Linked DNA regions of Homo sapiens: region 2 is linked to region 1. The links are contacts of gene promoters, found by promoter capture Hi-C in blood cells and fetal thymus (Javierre and others, 2016). All regions are on one chromosome and are shown on one strand. Each heading gives the region's core, a stretch centred on a gene start or on the middle of the fragment in contact. The rest is flanking DNA. Distances are from core to core; before and after follow the strand shown.

Region 1 (7,967 bases), core at 3,410-5,909:
CCCCACTCCTGTTACCAACTTTCTATACTAGTCCATTCTCACACTGCTGTGAGGAACTACCTAAGATTCGGTAATTTATGAAGAAAAGAGGTTTAATTGACTTACGATTCCACAGGCTGTACATGAAGCATGGCTGGGAGGCCTCAGGAAACTTACAGTCATGGCAGAAGGTGAAGAAGTAAGCATGTCTTACCATGGCAGAGCAGGAAAGAGGGTGAATGAAGAAGGAAGTGCTACACACTTTTAAACAAGCAGGTCTCATGTGAACTATCATGAGAACAGCAAGGAGGAAATCTGCCCCCATGATCCATTCATCTCCCACCAGGTCCCTCCCCTAACAAGAGAATTACAATTTGACATGAGACTTGGGTGGGGACACAGAGCCAAACCATATCAGATTCTGTTTTGAGACAGGGTCTTGCCCCATTATCCAGCCCACAGTGCAGTGGTGTGATCACGGCTCACTGTAGCCTCAAACTCCCAGGCTTAAGAGATTCTTCTGCCTTCTTCCTGACTCTCCCTCCTGATAAGCTGGAACTAAAGGCACATGCCATCACACCTGGCTAATTTTTACATTACTATTTGCAGAGATGGGGGTCTTGCTATGTTGCCCAGGCTGGTCTTAAATGCCTAGGCTCAAGCAATCCTCCTGCCTCAGCCTCCTGAAGTGGTGAAATTACAGGTGTGAGCTACTATGCACATCCAAACATCTTGCTCAAACTGGATCCTATAGGGAAAGGGAGAAGCCCAAGGTCAGAGGGCTCAGGGGATCCTGATTTAAGTTGGGTCAAGGAGAGTCTGCAGTGCACTTTTCTGTATGTGAGCTATACTCAAACGCAACTCTCTGGAGAAGACAAGTCAGCCTGGTCCCCTTTCATCCATCACCACACCCTGGGACACAGCACCATCCCATCCTGACTCCAGAGGGTTCAACAAGGGTCCCCGCTAGTCCTCCATGCCCCTGCACCTCTCACCATGAGATCACCATATCCCAATGTGTGTGGGGGAGCTTTACTTCTCTAAATGCTCTTTCAGGGCCACTCTTCCCTTCTTCACTCCGTGCCTCCATTACCTATCTACTCATTCCTCTCTCAGGACTGGCTGCCCACCCTTCCCATGACACAGCTATCAGAGGCATACCAAGGTTGGCTGCCTCATGGGAGACAGCAAGTGCCATGGAGGCCACAGCTGATGCCAGACAAAAGAGAACACACACAGAGAAGGAGGCATGGCTGCTTGAAGCTCCCCACGAGCTGGCCTGAGGGTCCGGACCTCAGAATACCAGCACCATGGAGACACCAGGTCACACACACATGAACCTTGATCCAGCTAATACAATGGGCCTGGCTGACCCCAGTCCTGGACTGACTCATCACTAATCTTCACTATCGTCACACCTGTCCCTTCTCCCAGGAGAGGAAATTGTCTAGAGGCAAAATCCCAAGGGGATCCACTCATGGGGCTTCAAGGCTGTGTCATCCACCTTGACTGGCTTTCACTCGGCCAGTACTGCACTGCCTCGGAAGGGCCACTCCAAAGTCATCCCAAATTTTCTACAGGCTTCCTGTTCTCCATTCTCTGGGACTCACTCTCTCTTCTACACTGACAACCCCTTATAACCCAAGTCCCAAAGAAGGAAGTTATTCTCATGCCCTGGGCTTTGGGATGCTGATTCCAGAGACGCTACTGCCCAATGCCCCTCCATCCACACTTACAGCTTCCCTGTTGCCCTGATCCAGTCCCTACTACTAAAGGTCCAAAGAAACCCCAAATTAACCTCCTTTTGGCTTCACTTTTTAATTTATTACCAAATTATTATGCCAACAAGTATCTGTAACAGAGAAAAAAATATGATACAAAATTCCAGTCCCCAAAGAAAACCACATTTTATTTCTCCATCATCCACTTTCAACATACATCCATATGTGCACATATTTTTACATGGCTGGAATAATAGTAAATCTTCTATTTGATGCCCCTTTTTGCCATATTATAAACATTTTCAACATGGCAATAAAACCTTTATAATGGTTCACAGTGGCTGAATTAGAAGCATCCTAAATGAACAACCATGGAGGTAGTGGTGGGGTGATAACATAAACATAACAACTCAGTATTTTTGCTTCAACAACTAAAGCAACAAACCACATCTGTTAGAAGCAGCCCTTTCCATCTTAGCACAAGCTTGTTTCAGTCTTTTTTTTTGAAATGGAGTCTCGCTCTGTCACCCAGGCTGGAGTGCAGTGGTGCGATCTTAGCTCACTGCAACCTCCACCTCCCAGGTTCAAGCAATTCTCCTGCCTCAGCTTCCCAAGTAGCTGGGATTACAGGCACACACTACTATGCCCAGATAATTTCCTGTATTTTTGGTAGAGATGGGGTTTCACCATGCTGGCCAGGCTGGTCTTGAACTCCTAACCTTGTGATCTGGCCGCCTCGGCCTCCCAAAGTGCTAGGATTACAGGCGTGAGCCACCACATCTGGCCTGCTTGTTTCAGTCTTAAGAGGAACGACTTCATTGTTCATTCACAGGTAATTTATTCACCTAGTTTGCCCTCCTGCAACGAGTCCTCAGCATTATTGCAGGAGTATAATGCAGACATACATTCAAACAGGAAAATCTCACACATTCTGTGGTGTGTGCAGTACAGCACTGTGTGGACTCTCTCATTGTACACCTTTGTTGTTACAGAAAACACAGTAAGAGCCCCTGCCAAAGCCTCTCTTTCTGATTACACTTAAAAAAGGTTGATTCAGGCCAGGCAGTGTCTCATGCCTGTAATCCCAACACTTTGGGAGGCTGAGGTGGGCGGATCATGAGGTCAGGAGTTCAAGACCAGCCTGGCCAACACAGTGAAACCCTGTCTCTACTAAAAATAGAAAAAATTAGCCAGGCATGGTGGCAGGCACCTGTAATCCTAGCTACTTTGGAGGCTGAGGCAGGAGAACTGCTTGAACCTGGGAGGCAGAGGTTGCTGTGAGTGGAGATCATGCCACTGCACAGTGAGACTCTGTCCGAAAAAAAAAAAAAAGTTGATTCAGTGTTTGCTTACGTACAAGGTGGAAACTCCCTACTACAGGGCTCTTCATTCCAATCATGTTCTGAATGCATTCACAGGTTCTCTCTGTGGTGTCACCCCCATGTTTGCACATTTCATTCCAGTGTGTGTGTTGTCATGTCTGGTACAGACTGAATCATCCCCAAAGACTTTTCTGCCCTCATCCTAAGTTGTCTCTGGAGTTCCCCAATGAGCAGACTTAACAGTGTGGCTCAGCAATGTCTCACATTCATCAATTCACTGGATAGCTTAAAGGATTCTTTTCTACTGACCAGAGAGGAGTCAGATCTAAGACACGCCTCCTAAACACAGGAGTGAGAGTGAACTGGAAGACTCATGTGGCCCCCAACCATTATGTTTCCATGGGTTGCTCTCCCAGGTGTGCTCTTTGATGTCGAACAAGGGATGAGCTCTTTTGGAACATTTTTCCACACTGAGGACACCGGCTGGGACCCTCCCTGCTATGGAGTCTCTGATGTACTGCCAGGTGAGAGTTCTGCTTGAAGGACTTCCCACATTCTGGACACTGATATGGGGTCTCCTTAGTGTGAATTCTCTGGTGCTTGGTCAGACAGGAGCTGTCCCTGAAGGCTTTGCCACACTGATTACACTCATAGGGCTTCTCACCAGTATGAGTCCTCTGGTGCCTAATGAGGCCAGCGATATTCCTGAAAAGTTTCTGACACTGGTTGCAGCCATAGGGCTTCTCGCCAGTATGAATCCTCTGATGCCTGATGAGGTACGCACTCTCGATGAAAGTCTTGCCACATTCTTTACATTCATAGGGTTTCTCCCCAGAATGGATCTTTTGATGCACAATGAGGTGAGAGTTTCTGTTGAAGGATTTCCCGCACTCTGCACACTCAAAGGGCTTTTCTCCAGTGTGAGTCCTCTCATGCTGGGTGAGGTACGAGCCGTCCCGGAAAGCCTTTCCACATTTGCTACACTCATAGGGCTTCTCACCGGTGTGGATTCTGAGATGCACTGTAAGGTGGGAGATGTCAGTGAAGGGTTTCCCACATTCGTTACATCTATATGGTTTTTCCCCTGTATGAGTTCTTTGGTGCAAAATTAAGGATGAATTTCGGTTGAAGGTTTTTCCACACTCTAGGCATTCATAAGGTTTCTCGCCTGTGTGAATTCTCTGGTGCTGTGTCAGAGCTGAGCCATCACTGAAAGCTTTCCCACATTTACTGCATTCATAGGGCTTCTCTCCTGTGTGGATTCTTTGATGCACAATCAGGTTGTAGTTCTTGGAGAAGGACTTTCCACACTCATTACAAGTATAAGGCTTCTCTCCGGTGTGAGTTCGGTGATGCAAAACAAGAGAAGAGTTCCGTTTGAAGCATTTGCCACATTCAGTACATCTATATTGTTTCTCTCCAGGGAGATTTCTCTGGTTTTCATTAAGCGATGAGCTCAGAGTAAAGATGTTCTCAAAATTCTTACCTTCATACGATTTCTTGCCTCTTTTCATTATTTTCTGATGACCAAGAGAGGTAAAATGATTAAAAGACTTAACACTTTCAGGGTATTTGTAGGGCTTCTCTCTCACTGGATTTCTTCCATGAATAACTTCCATGGAATGGTTGAAGCCTTTTCCACAGGCATCACTGTCACCAGTTCTCTTATCTGCATAACTTTTAGGATAGCTGGGTAAGGCGGGGTCACAATCCAGACCACTAACATTTGAGTCAGGTGCATGGAAACCATTTGTTGCCAGAACTCTCTGAGACGGTGGAAGGTCTGAGCTTGCAATCAAATGCTCCCCAAAACCAGGATATTCACAAATTGCTTCCTGAGTCCCTGGTTTCTCCAGAGTTAAAGCTGATTGCCTCAAGTGTCCCTCCTGGTTCTCACAGTCCCAACCATCACCTAAACTGGACAAGCAGGGAACTTCCCTTGTGAATCTTTCCACTTCTACATCACAGGGTACTTCTCTCTCAGGAAAATTCCGAGTCGTCATTTTCAATCTCATATCCCAAACTGCAAAAAGAAGAAAAATGCAGACTTAGGTATATGAAGCTTTATCTGTAAGAGAAACAGACAATGATGATGGGCTAGGTGTAAAGATGTGTATTTTTTTACTTGTTTTCTCTTTTAAATTCAAATTTATACAAGGAAGAGGTAAAATCGTAGCCAAGGAATGGAACCAAGAACAGATTCAAAAAGAGCCATGTAGCATTTTCATCTTCCTAGAGAGCAGGCAGGAGGAATGGACCTCGGGATAAATCATCACCAAAAGGATTAGTTTGAGATGTGAGAGACCAGAGGCCAAGCATCCCTGCTCCCCCTAGAATTCCATCCCAGCCACTGCATTCTTGTCCCTGTCACACACTGCCCATCAGTACACATTTCCAAAGCTCTGACTTCACAATGAGCTTACAACAGCACTGAAGGAACAGTTCTCACCCCAGCTCTGTCATCAAAGTTCTGCATTCATGGATAGGACAAAGCACAGGCTTGGTGACCTAAAAGTTCTGGGTCTAAGTCTTAGAACTGTCAATGACCTGGCGGGGCACAGTGGTTCACTCCTGTAATCCCAGCACTTTGGGAAGTGGAGGCAGGTGGATCATTTGAAGTCAGGAGTTCAAGACCAGCCTGACCAACATGGTGAAACACCGTCTCTACTAAAAATACAAAAAAAATCAGCCAGGCGTGGTGGCACATGCCTGTAGTCCCAGCTACTCTGGAGGCTGAGGCAGGAGAATCACTTCAACCTGGTAGGCAGAGGTTGCAGTGAGCTGAGATCACACCACTGCACTCCAGCCTACGCGGCAGAGTGAGACTCCATCTCAAAAAACAAAACAAAACAAAAACTGTCAAAGACTGCCCTGCATGGTTGTTATAAAAACTGGATCATGTCGGCCAGGCGCGGTGGTCACGCCTGTAATCCCAGCACTTTGGGAGGCCGAGGTGGGCAGATCACAAGGTCAGGAGATTGAGACCATCCTGGCTAACGTGGTGAAACCCCGTCTCTACTAAAAAAATACAAACAATTAGCCAGGCGTGGTGGCGGGCGCCTGTAGTCCCAGCTACTCGGGAGGCTGAGGCAGGAGAATGGCGCGAACCCGGGAGGCGGAGCTTGCAGTGAGCCAAGATCGTGCCACTGCACTCCAGCCTGGGCCACAGAGCAAGACTCCGTCTCAAAAAAAAAAAAAAAAAAAAACTGGATCATGTACAAAGCAGTCTCCAAGGCTAGGGGATGAAGGGCATTCTGTAAATGGTTGCATGTGTCTTCATGCATATCAATCTTCCTGTCACCATCCTTGTCCATTCAGACTTCACAATATTAAGACAACTGGTTGTCCATTCATTCGTTCATTCATTTGGTGGGATCGGGTCTCGCTCTGTCATTCAGGCTGAAGTGCAGTGGTGTGATCTTGGTTCACTGAAGCCTCAATCTCAAAAACTTCAAGCAATTATCCCACCTCAGCCTCCCAAAATGCTGCAAATACAGGGATGAGCCATTGTGCCCAGCCTTCTTTCTATTTTTTAAGGTAAAATGAAAATAGACCCTTGCCTCAGAATACATACATACATATATGTCTACATTCTAGGCAATTTAAATATATATACATGTATATGTGTATATGTGTGTGTGTGTGTGTGTGTGCGCGTGTATTTACATTTCAGAAGGATACAGGCTGCAACATAAAGTCAAAGTTTAAATAATGTAGTATGCCTTCATAAGTGTGGCAGACTTTGATCAACAAAACTTAACCAAAAAACCATATGGCCAAGCATTGGGGGTCATGCCTGTAATCCCAGCACTCTGGGAGGCTGAAGTGGGAGTTATCACTTGAGCCCACACAGAAGGCTGAGGCTGCAGTGAGCTGTAATTGTGCCACTGCATTCCAGATTGGGCAAAAGAGACCATGTCTTAAAAACAAAAAACAAAAACCAAAAAATAAAAAACAGACAAGGATTAAGAAGTCTGATATCAGCATTCAAATTTTCCATCCAATAAAAGACACAATAAGAGACAAAATGCAAGTGGCAGATAGGGAGAAAATAGGACTTAAAAGCACAAAGAATTATTGCCCAAGAGCTATAGAGGATTCTTACAGAGAGAAAATAAGATTTAAAAGCACAAAGAATTACTGCCCAAGAACTACAGAGGATTCTTACAGAACAGCACATAAAAAGAAAAAAAATGGGCAAAGTAATCAAAGAGCACTTCGTGAAGGGAAAATAGAAATGTCCTGAAAACATTGGCTGGGAGCAGTGGGTCACGCCTGTAATCCCAGCACTTTGGGAGGCTGAGGCAGGTGGACCACAAGGTCAGGAGATCGAGACCATCCTGGCTGACACGGTGAAACCCCGTCTCTATTAAAAATACAAAAAATTAGCCAGGCGTGGTGGCGGGCGCCTGTAGTCCCAGCTACTTGGGAGGCTGAGGCAGGAGAATGGCATGAACCCGGGAGGCAGAGCTTGCAGTGAGCCGCGATAGCGCCACTGCACTCCAGCCTGGGCAACAGGGCGAGACTCTGCCTCAAAAAAAAAAAAAAAAGAAAGAAAAAAAAGAAATGTCCTGAAAACATCAATATTTATTTTCTCATTCTATCATTCAGGCAATTCCAAACTGCGACTTTAAGAACACAAAATATACACATTTCACGTGAGTAAAAATAAAATGAAGTACAATAATATAAAGCTTTGGTAGGTCACAAGGGAAGAGGGCTTGGAAAGTGGTCAGCGTGCTTGGCAGGGTACCTTAGTGGCAGCTGTGAAAACATAAACTGGGGGCAGGCGCGGTGGCTCACGCCTATAATTCCAGCAGTTTGGGAGGCTGAGGTGGGTGGATCACCTGAGCTCAGGAGTTCGAGACCAGCCTGACTAACATGGTGAAACCCCACCTCCACTAAAAATACAAAAATTAAGCCAGGCACAGTGGCTCACGCCTGT
Region 2 (7,967 bases), core at 2,959-5,458, 900 kb before region 1:
TTTTGTCCCAGAGAGCACACCTTCACAGAAGCCCACTAGAGCACCCAGCTAGCTCATACCCATTCTTTCATGATTATCTATTGATTTGTTTGGTTATTGAATAATGACCGTATCCTGAACTCAATTTCCAGCTTCGAAAAAGCACAGACCTTGATCTAGATTTTCTCCTAATGTTCCATGTGCATAGTTTGTAGTCAATAGTATGTATTCAGATATTTGTTAGGTGAATGAGCCTTAATCATTTTTGACATTTTAGGTTATGTGACATTCTCTCCCCAGTACCACCTCAGGCTCGATGATTTGCCTGAAAGTCAAAATTCAGAAAAGAAAGTCACACACAACTCAGAAAAGCTGTTGTACTCATGGTTACAGTTTATTACCACAAAAGGATAGAGACCAAGATCACCAAAGGTAAAAGGCACATAGGAGGAAATCTGTGAGAAACCAGGCACAATTTTTTTTCTTTTTTCTTTTTCTTTTTTTTTTTTTTTTTTTTTGAGATGGAGTCTCGCTGTGTCACCCAGGCTGGAGTGCAATGGCACAATCTCGGCTCACTGCAACCTCTGCCTCCCAGGTTCAGGTGATCCTCTGCCTCAGCCTCCCAAGTAGCTGGGATTACAGGCATGTGCCACCACACTGGCTGATTTTTGTGTTTTTAGCAGAGATGGGGTTACACCATGTTGGCCAGGCCAGTCTGGAACTCCTGACTTCAAGTGATCCACCCGCCTTGGCCTCCCAAAGTGCTGGGATTACGGGTGGAAGCCACTGTGTCCAGCACAGGCACAAACTTAGCAGGTGTTCCCTCCCAGTGCAGTTGCACAAGGGCACACTGAATTCTCCCAGCAAAGTTGTGTGCAACACATTCACAGTATTGCCAGCCAGGGAAGCTCCCCCAAGCCTTGACGTCTAGAGTTTTCGTTAAGGGTCATTGAGGTAGGAATGCAGAACCCACATGAATAACCATAAATATCCAGTCTACAACCCTTGCAGAAAACAAACATATAGCATGGCCCAGGGCCTCATGCATGCAAAAGCCAGCATCCACCATGAATCATATTGTTAGCATAAATTATCTGGTCAAACGTGCAGCAGGACCTACTTATGGTTTTCGACATAAAAATCTTACCAGGCAAGATACCCCAAGAGGTTGTTTTCCTGAAGTTGGCCCTAATTCATTCTAGGGTCAGATATCAGATAGCTGCGGACAGTGCCTGTGTCCTAAAACCTGCCAACATTATTCACAGTAGCAAATCCTATTCTGTTTATGCTGCCCCTGCCCTGCCTTGCCTTGCCTTTCTGGTGGAAAACACAGCGCAGGCTCTGGGCCTTGCTTTCTCCTCTGCTGCTGCTTTCTAACCTGCTCTGGTGCTTCCACCCGCATGGTGTGCTCTGCCTCCTGTTTCTAGGGATCTCTTACTATAAACTTCCTCCATAATAATCACTTCTGTATCTGATTGTCACACCCTGCCTGACTAAATACAATCCCAGGTATATTCTAGAATACACAGGGAGCCTATTACAACATCCTTGGGCCAGGCGCAGTGGCTCGCGCCTGTAATCCCAGCACTTTGGGAGGCTGAGGCAGGACTGCTTGAGCCCAGGAGTTCAAGACCAGCCTGGGAAATATAGTGAGACCCCATCTTTAAAAAGAATAAATTTTTAAAAATTGGCTGGATGTGGTGGCATGCACCTGTGGTCCCAGCTACTTGGCAGGCTTAGGTGGAAGAATTGCTTAAGCCTGGGAGTTCGAGGCTGTAGTGGGCCATGATGGTGTCACTGCACTCCAGCCTGGGTGGAAGAGTGAGACTTTGTCTCAAAACTAAAAATAAAAATATGACCTCCTTACTGTGGCCTCCAGGACACTACAGAATTCACGTCCATCTATCTCTGTGATTCAGTTTATCTTCAGCTGCAGCCATACTAACCTTGTTGCACTTCCCCAAACACGACAGGATCCTCCTGCTTTCATTCCCTTGTCTTAGGTGCTCTCTCTATGAGACCCTGTTACCTCAGATGCTCCATTCCTCCAAGTCCATGCTCAGATATAACTGTCTTTTAGACATTTCCCAACTACTCTACCTCCCTCTAACCTTCTATATTGTTTACTTTTGTGGTTGTGGTTGTTCTTTTTGAGTTACTGATTGTTGGAATTAAAAGGTCCCCGAGGGCCAGGGACAGTGGCTCACGCCTGTAATCCCAGCAATTTGGGAGACTGAGGTGGGTAGATCATCTGTGGTCAGGAGTTCGACACCAGCCTGGCCAAAATGGTGAAACCCTGTCTCTACTAAAAATACCAAAATTAGCCGGGCGTGGTGGTGTGCACCTGTAGTCCCAGCTACTTGGGAGTCTGAGGCAGGAGAATTGGTTGAACCTGGGAGGCAGAGGTTGCAGTGAGCCGAGATCGCACCACTGCACTCCAGCCTGGGCGACAGAGTGAAACTGCATCTCAAAAAAAAAAAAAAATTCCTCAAGTACAGGAATGCATAATTATTTTGCTATGTACATATCTGATTTTTTAGAGCAGTGCCTGTTGCAAGATAGGCACTCAATCGATACTCATTAAATTAACAATATACACATATATAAAACAGCACTTTCACATGGTTATGAGTGACCTAAGGAAAAACAGAACAGGATGACGTTGTAGTGGGGGCTGTTTTAAATTGACAGTTTGGAGCTGGGCGCAGTGGCTCACACCTGTGATCCCAGTATTTTGGGAAGCCGAGGCGAGTGGATCACCTGAGGTCAGGAGTTCGAGACCAGCCTGGCCAACATGGTGAAACCCTGTCTCTACTAAAAATACAAAAATTAGCCGGGCATGGTGGCAGGTGCCTGTAATCCCAGCTACTCAGGAGGCTGAGGCAGGAGAAATGTTTGAACCTAGGAGGCGGAGGTTGCATGAGCTGAGTTCGAGCCACTGCACTCCAGCCTGGGTGACAGAGCAAGACTCCGTCTCAATAAACAAACAAACAGACAGGTTTGGGAAAGCCTCTGAGAAAGGAATGGTTGGCCTGAGCTAAGCGCCATTACCCTGATCCACCTATTGTAACCACCTAATGGGTTCATTATTTTCCCTGCTCCCCAGATAGAGTCGACTTATCAAGACAGGATAATTGCAATAAAGGGTTTAATTCACATCAATCGAGCTAAATGAGAGACCAGAGTTTTATTACTCAAATAGGTCTCCCCAAATATTTTGAGACGAGCTTTTTTGTTTTTGGGTTTTTTTGTTTTTGTTTTTGTTTTTTTTGAGACAGAGTCTCGTTCTCCTTCTGTCGCCCAGGCTGGAGTGCAGTGGCATGATCTTGGCTCACTGCAACCTCCGCCTCCAGGGTTCAAGCGATTCTCTTGCCTCAGCCTTTTGAGTAGGTGGGATTACAGGCATGCGCCACCACACCCGGCTAATTTTTGTAGTAGAAACGGGGTTTCGCCCTGTTGGCCAGGCTGGTCTCGAACTGCCTACCTCAGGTGATCCGCCCGCCTCGGCCTCCCAAAGTGCTGGGATTACAGGCATGAGCCATCACGCCAGGCCTTCAATTATATTTCTGCAAGATATGTTCCCTGTCTAAAAGAATTCAATTTTTAATGTTTTTGAAACTTATGTGTTTGCTAAACAAATACGTGGGGGCTGATTTTACGATCTGAGGCCAAATCCACAAACTGATTACAGGGTCCAACAAATATTTGGCGAGTGGGAGGAGAGGGGTAAGTGAGCTGGACTGGTGGCGTCCTGGCTGTGAGCAGGCACAGCCGCAGGCTTCAGGGAGCCCCATCGCGGTGACCCTGGAGAGTGGCCTGAATCGGACGTGACCTTGAAGCAAGGTGGTTTTGGGGTCGCCGGCTGCACAAGGCGCGAAGTGGTTTAGGGTCACGGGCTGCACGAGGCTCCAGCACGTCAGGAGTGGGCGTCTGTTCATTCCCACGTGCATCGCGGCTCTCTCCTAGTTGACGCATGCACACCCCGTGGGTGTATGCGTTGTTCATTCCCACAACGGCCATCACCACCTCTCCGCACCCTCTGTCTCCTTCCTTCTCGGGCCTCACCCCTGGCCCTCGCTTTCAGTGCCCAGCCCGGACCGCAGCACTCCAGTTCCGCCCCAACCCGGGAACCCTGGACTGAGGCTCCCGTTTCTGTCCTTTCTATTGGGCGCACTTCCGATGGCGTCAGGAATTTCAGCCAATAGGAGCCAGCCAGGAAGTACCTCTCTGAGCGGTTGGTGCCGGGTATAAAAGAAGGCCGCGCAGCCACGGCTGCTCACGACGCCGCGGATCCCGAAGCCTGTGTAGCAGTGAGACATCAGTGAGGCTGCAGGACGAGCAGGATTGGAAGCGCCCCGGCCAGAAAGTGACCCCCCACCCCTTTCAGGACCCTGTGAACGGGAACAGCCATCCAGAGGGTTCAGGAAGGCGTCCGCGCCCTCACCTCTTCTCCCCATGAGCTCCCCCAGAGCTGTGGTGCAGCTGGGCAAAGCTCAACCTGCAGGCGAAGAGTGTGAGAGCCAGCGCCAGAGAAAGGACGCAGGGAAGGCTGGGGACTGGGCCAGGGGTCGGGTGCACAGAAGACACATGTGTTGACATCTCCCCTCCCTCTCCTCCTCCCCAACGCTCTTCTTTTCTCCCCACTCCCTCCCTTCCCTCCAATTCTTTCTTTCACCTCTCCCTCCCCTACTCTCTCCTCCCCTTCCTTTCTCTCTGCCTCTTCTTCACCTCCTCCTCCCCTCCCTACCTTACCTTACTCTTTCTTCTTCCCCTTACCTCTCCCTCCCCCTCTCCCTGCCTTCCCCTTCCCTCTCTTTCTCTCCTCCCCTTCTTCCCCTCACCTCTCGCTCCCTATTCCCTTCTCTACTGTTCTCCTCTCCTCTCTTTCTCTCCCCTTCTCCTTCCCTCCCCTCTCCCTTCCTATCTCCCTCCTCCTCCTCTCTTTCAGTGGCTACAGCAAACCAAACAGCCCAGCAGCCCAGCAGCCCAGCCATGTGAGTCCCTTGGGATTGGTATCTGGAAAAGGAAGGAAGGTGGGACGTGGGGATGAAGAACAGACTGGGTGTGTGGGGTGCTGGCTCCTGGGAACGAGAACTACTGATAGGGCTGGGTCTGTGTGAGAAGGGAAAGCGGCAGAGGAAGGATACAATGAAAGAGGAAGGGGAGCATTGGCATCCCTGACTTTCCCTCCGCCTACCCTACCTCCCAAGCTGAGGCTTTTTTCTTCCTCTCCTGTCAGGCGGCGCCTCACAGTCGATGACTTTGAAATCGGGCGTCCCCTGGGCAAGGGGAAATTTGGGAATGTGTACCTGGCTCGGCTCAAGGAAAGCCATTTCATTGTGGCCCTGAAGGTTCTCTTCAAGTCGCAGATAGAGAAGGAAGGACTGGAGCACCAGCTGCGCCGGGAAATTGAGATCCAGGCTCATCTACAGTAAGGACAGTCTCTGCTTCCTCTTTCATCTTTGACGTCTGAGCCCAGCATTTTCCCCAAATACTAACCCCAAGTAAACCCTGCACTTGTACCTTGAAGACTTCTCTGCAGTTCATTCCATTTACACTACCTCCTACCCTGGGTCAGACACTCGAATCCTGGTTCCTGTTCTCCGTTCTCCCCTCACTTGCTCCCAGATAGGGCTGTTGTTATTCTGGTCCCAGCATAATTTGCCACTTGTGTGACCAGGCAGTGACGGTGGCATCATATGATAGGCCTCAGGGAGAAATCTGACTCTTCCAACATTAATCCTTCAGACACCCCAATATCCTGCGCCTGTATAACTATTTCCATGATGCACGCCGGGTGTACCTGATTCTGGAATATGCTCCAAGGGGTGAGCTCTACAAGGAGCTGCAGAAAAGCGAGAAATTAGATGAACAGCGCACAGCCACGGTGAGGTGCGGGTCTGGAGGCTCTGGGGTCTCTGAGTTTACTGTGGGCTGGTGGGAGCTCTGTTTGTGGCTGTCAGGAGGGTCCGCATTGCCTTCTGAGAAGTTTACTTCTGAATGTTATTGTGTAAATTTAATATAATGGCACGTATGTTCTACAGCTTTATCCTTGGATACCCTAATTAACCTCATTGTATCTCCAGAATATTAATAAGTACTGCGTATAGGTTTGGATTCTTTGGTTATAAGCAACAGAATCTAACTCCACTGCCTTATGTAAAGAAACATATTGAAAGGCTCTGAAGGAGTTCACTGAATAAATAGCTAGAACTGGCTTAGAGATAGGTACAAAGAGATTTCTAGAGGGTTCCGGAAAGGGAACCATGGCAATGATTTTCCCAGGAGCAATGGTCCAATCAGCTTGCTGTGTCAGGATGAGTGGTCTTCCATCTTTCCTCCTGTTTCTGTTTCACTTCCTCGGGCCTCAAGTCCTGTGAGAGATCATCTGAGTGGCTCAATGTAGGTTCTATGTCTGGCTACTTGCTGTGCTAGGACAACAGGGAGGATCTGTGTCCATGTTACCATCCATCCTATAAGACCACATAAAAAGGAGAGGAAAACCACACCCCACACACCAGTAACTGGTGCAATTTAAAAGGAGGAAATGGAGTTACTGGACCAAAAAGATTCCACTGTAATCATACAATTCATGGTAAGTGTTCCACCTCAGACGGAAATTGTGGCAGGCTTCACTTCCAGGGTGACTTTTCTTTGCACCCACAGATAATAGAGGAGTTGGCAGATGCCCTGACCTACTGCCATGACAAGAAAGTGATTCACAGAGATATTAAGCCAGAGAACCTGCTGCTGGGGTTCAGGGGTGAGGTGAAGATTGCAGATTTTGGCTGGTCTGTGCACACCCCCTCCCTGAGGTAGGTCAGGTGGTGGTGGTAGGGTGAGTTCTGAGTACCAGTTAGGAATGACCCAGTTTAATGTATTTCATGTGTCCATGTGTAAAACCTAGATACGAACTTGGGGTTTCTATTGGAATACTGCCTTTTTCTTTTCTTTTCTTTTCTTTTTTTTTTTGAGACAGAGTCTAACTCTTTCACCCAGGCTGGAGTGCAGGGGCACAATCTCGGCCTCCCAGGTTAAAGCGGTTCTACTGCCTCAGTCTCCCAAGTAGCTGGGATAACAGGCATGTGCCACCACACTCGGCTAATTTTTGTATTTTTAGTAGAGACAGGGTTTTGCTATGTTGGCCAGGCTAGTCTCGAACTCCTGACCTCAGGTGATCCGCCCACCTTGGCTTCCCAAAGTGCTGGGATTACAGGCGTCAGCCACCATGCCTGGCTGAACTACTGCCTTTTTCTTTTCTTTTTTTTTTTTTTTTTTTTTGAGACAGAGTTTTGCTCTTGTTGCCCAGGCTAGATTGCAATAGTGTGATCTCGGCTCACTGCAACCTCCCCCTCCCAGGTTCAAGCGATTCTCCTGCCTCAGCCTCCCAAGTAGCTGGGATTACAGGCATGGGCCATCACACCCGGCTGATTTTGTATTTTTAGTAAAGACGGGTTTCACCATGTTGGTCAGGCTGGTCTCCAACTCCTGACCTCAGGTAATCTGCCTGCCTCGGCCTCCCAAAGTGCTGGGATCATAGGCATGAGCCACGATGCCTGGCCAATGCTGCCATTTTCAAACACCTATACTTGATATGTATTCGTAGATTTAAATAATGTGGTCCAATCAAACCTTTTATTTTCTGATCTTTGTTAATATATAACTATACCAGTAAGTTTGCATGTAAATAAAGTCATTGCTCCACAATTCCAAAGGAGTGCATTTTTCTGTATGAATGATTTTCATACAGAAATTTTCTTACCATAATTTATTTACTTGGCTCTCATTGATACACCATCAGTTTGTTCTAGATCTTTCTTAATGCTGAGAATATTCTTGTGAAAACATTCTGGAGCATGAGCTAAATCACTGTGTGAATAATTCCAAAATATGGATTTATTAATAGTAGGCCCCAGTACTTTTCTGAACCTTGATCCATATTAAAAATTTGTCTCTCCAAACTCCTGTGCTTGGGAGGGACTTTCCAG

The links. Contacts are between HindIII fragments. The CHiCAGO score rates a contact against its expected background, and 5 or more counts as called.
Region 2: a contact is called between the fragment with the promoter of AURKC here and a fragment that was not itself captured in region 1, in 1 of 17 cell types (naive CD8 T cells). The highest score is 5.8, in naive CD8 T cells.

Annotation. Positions count from the first base shown.
Region 1 is chr19:58,124,467-58,132,433 of GRCh38, forward strand. ZNF329 (zinc finger protein 329) reads right to left here. Exons shown (of 4, transcript NM_024620.4): 4 at 1,782-5,045. The coding sequence starts at 5,037. The coding sequence ends at 3,412. Among named protein-coding and RNA genes, the nearest start is that of ZNF329, 22 kb to the right of the region's middle. The HindIII fragment of the contact is 846 bases long and covers 4,237-5,082 here.
Region 2 is chr19:57,226,815-57,234,781 of GRCh38, forward strand. It overlaps AURKC (aurora kinase C), which reads left to right and starts at 4,209. Exons shown (of 7, transcript NM_001015878.2): 1 at 4,209-4,492; 2 at 4,928-4,973; 3 at 5,219-5,410; 4 at 5,728-5,866; 5 at 6,646-6,794. The coding sequence starts at 4,435. The HindIII fragment of the contact is 17,293 bases long and covers 1-7,967 here.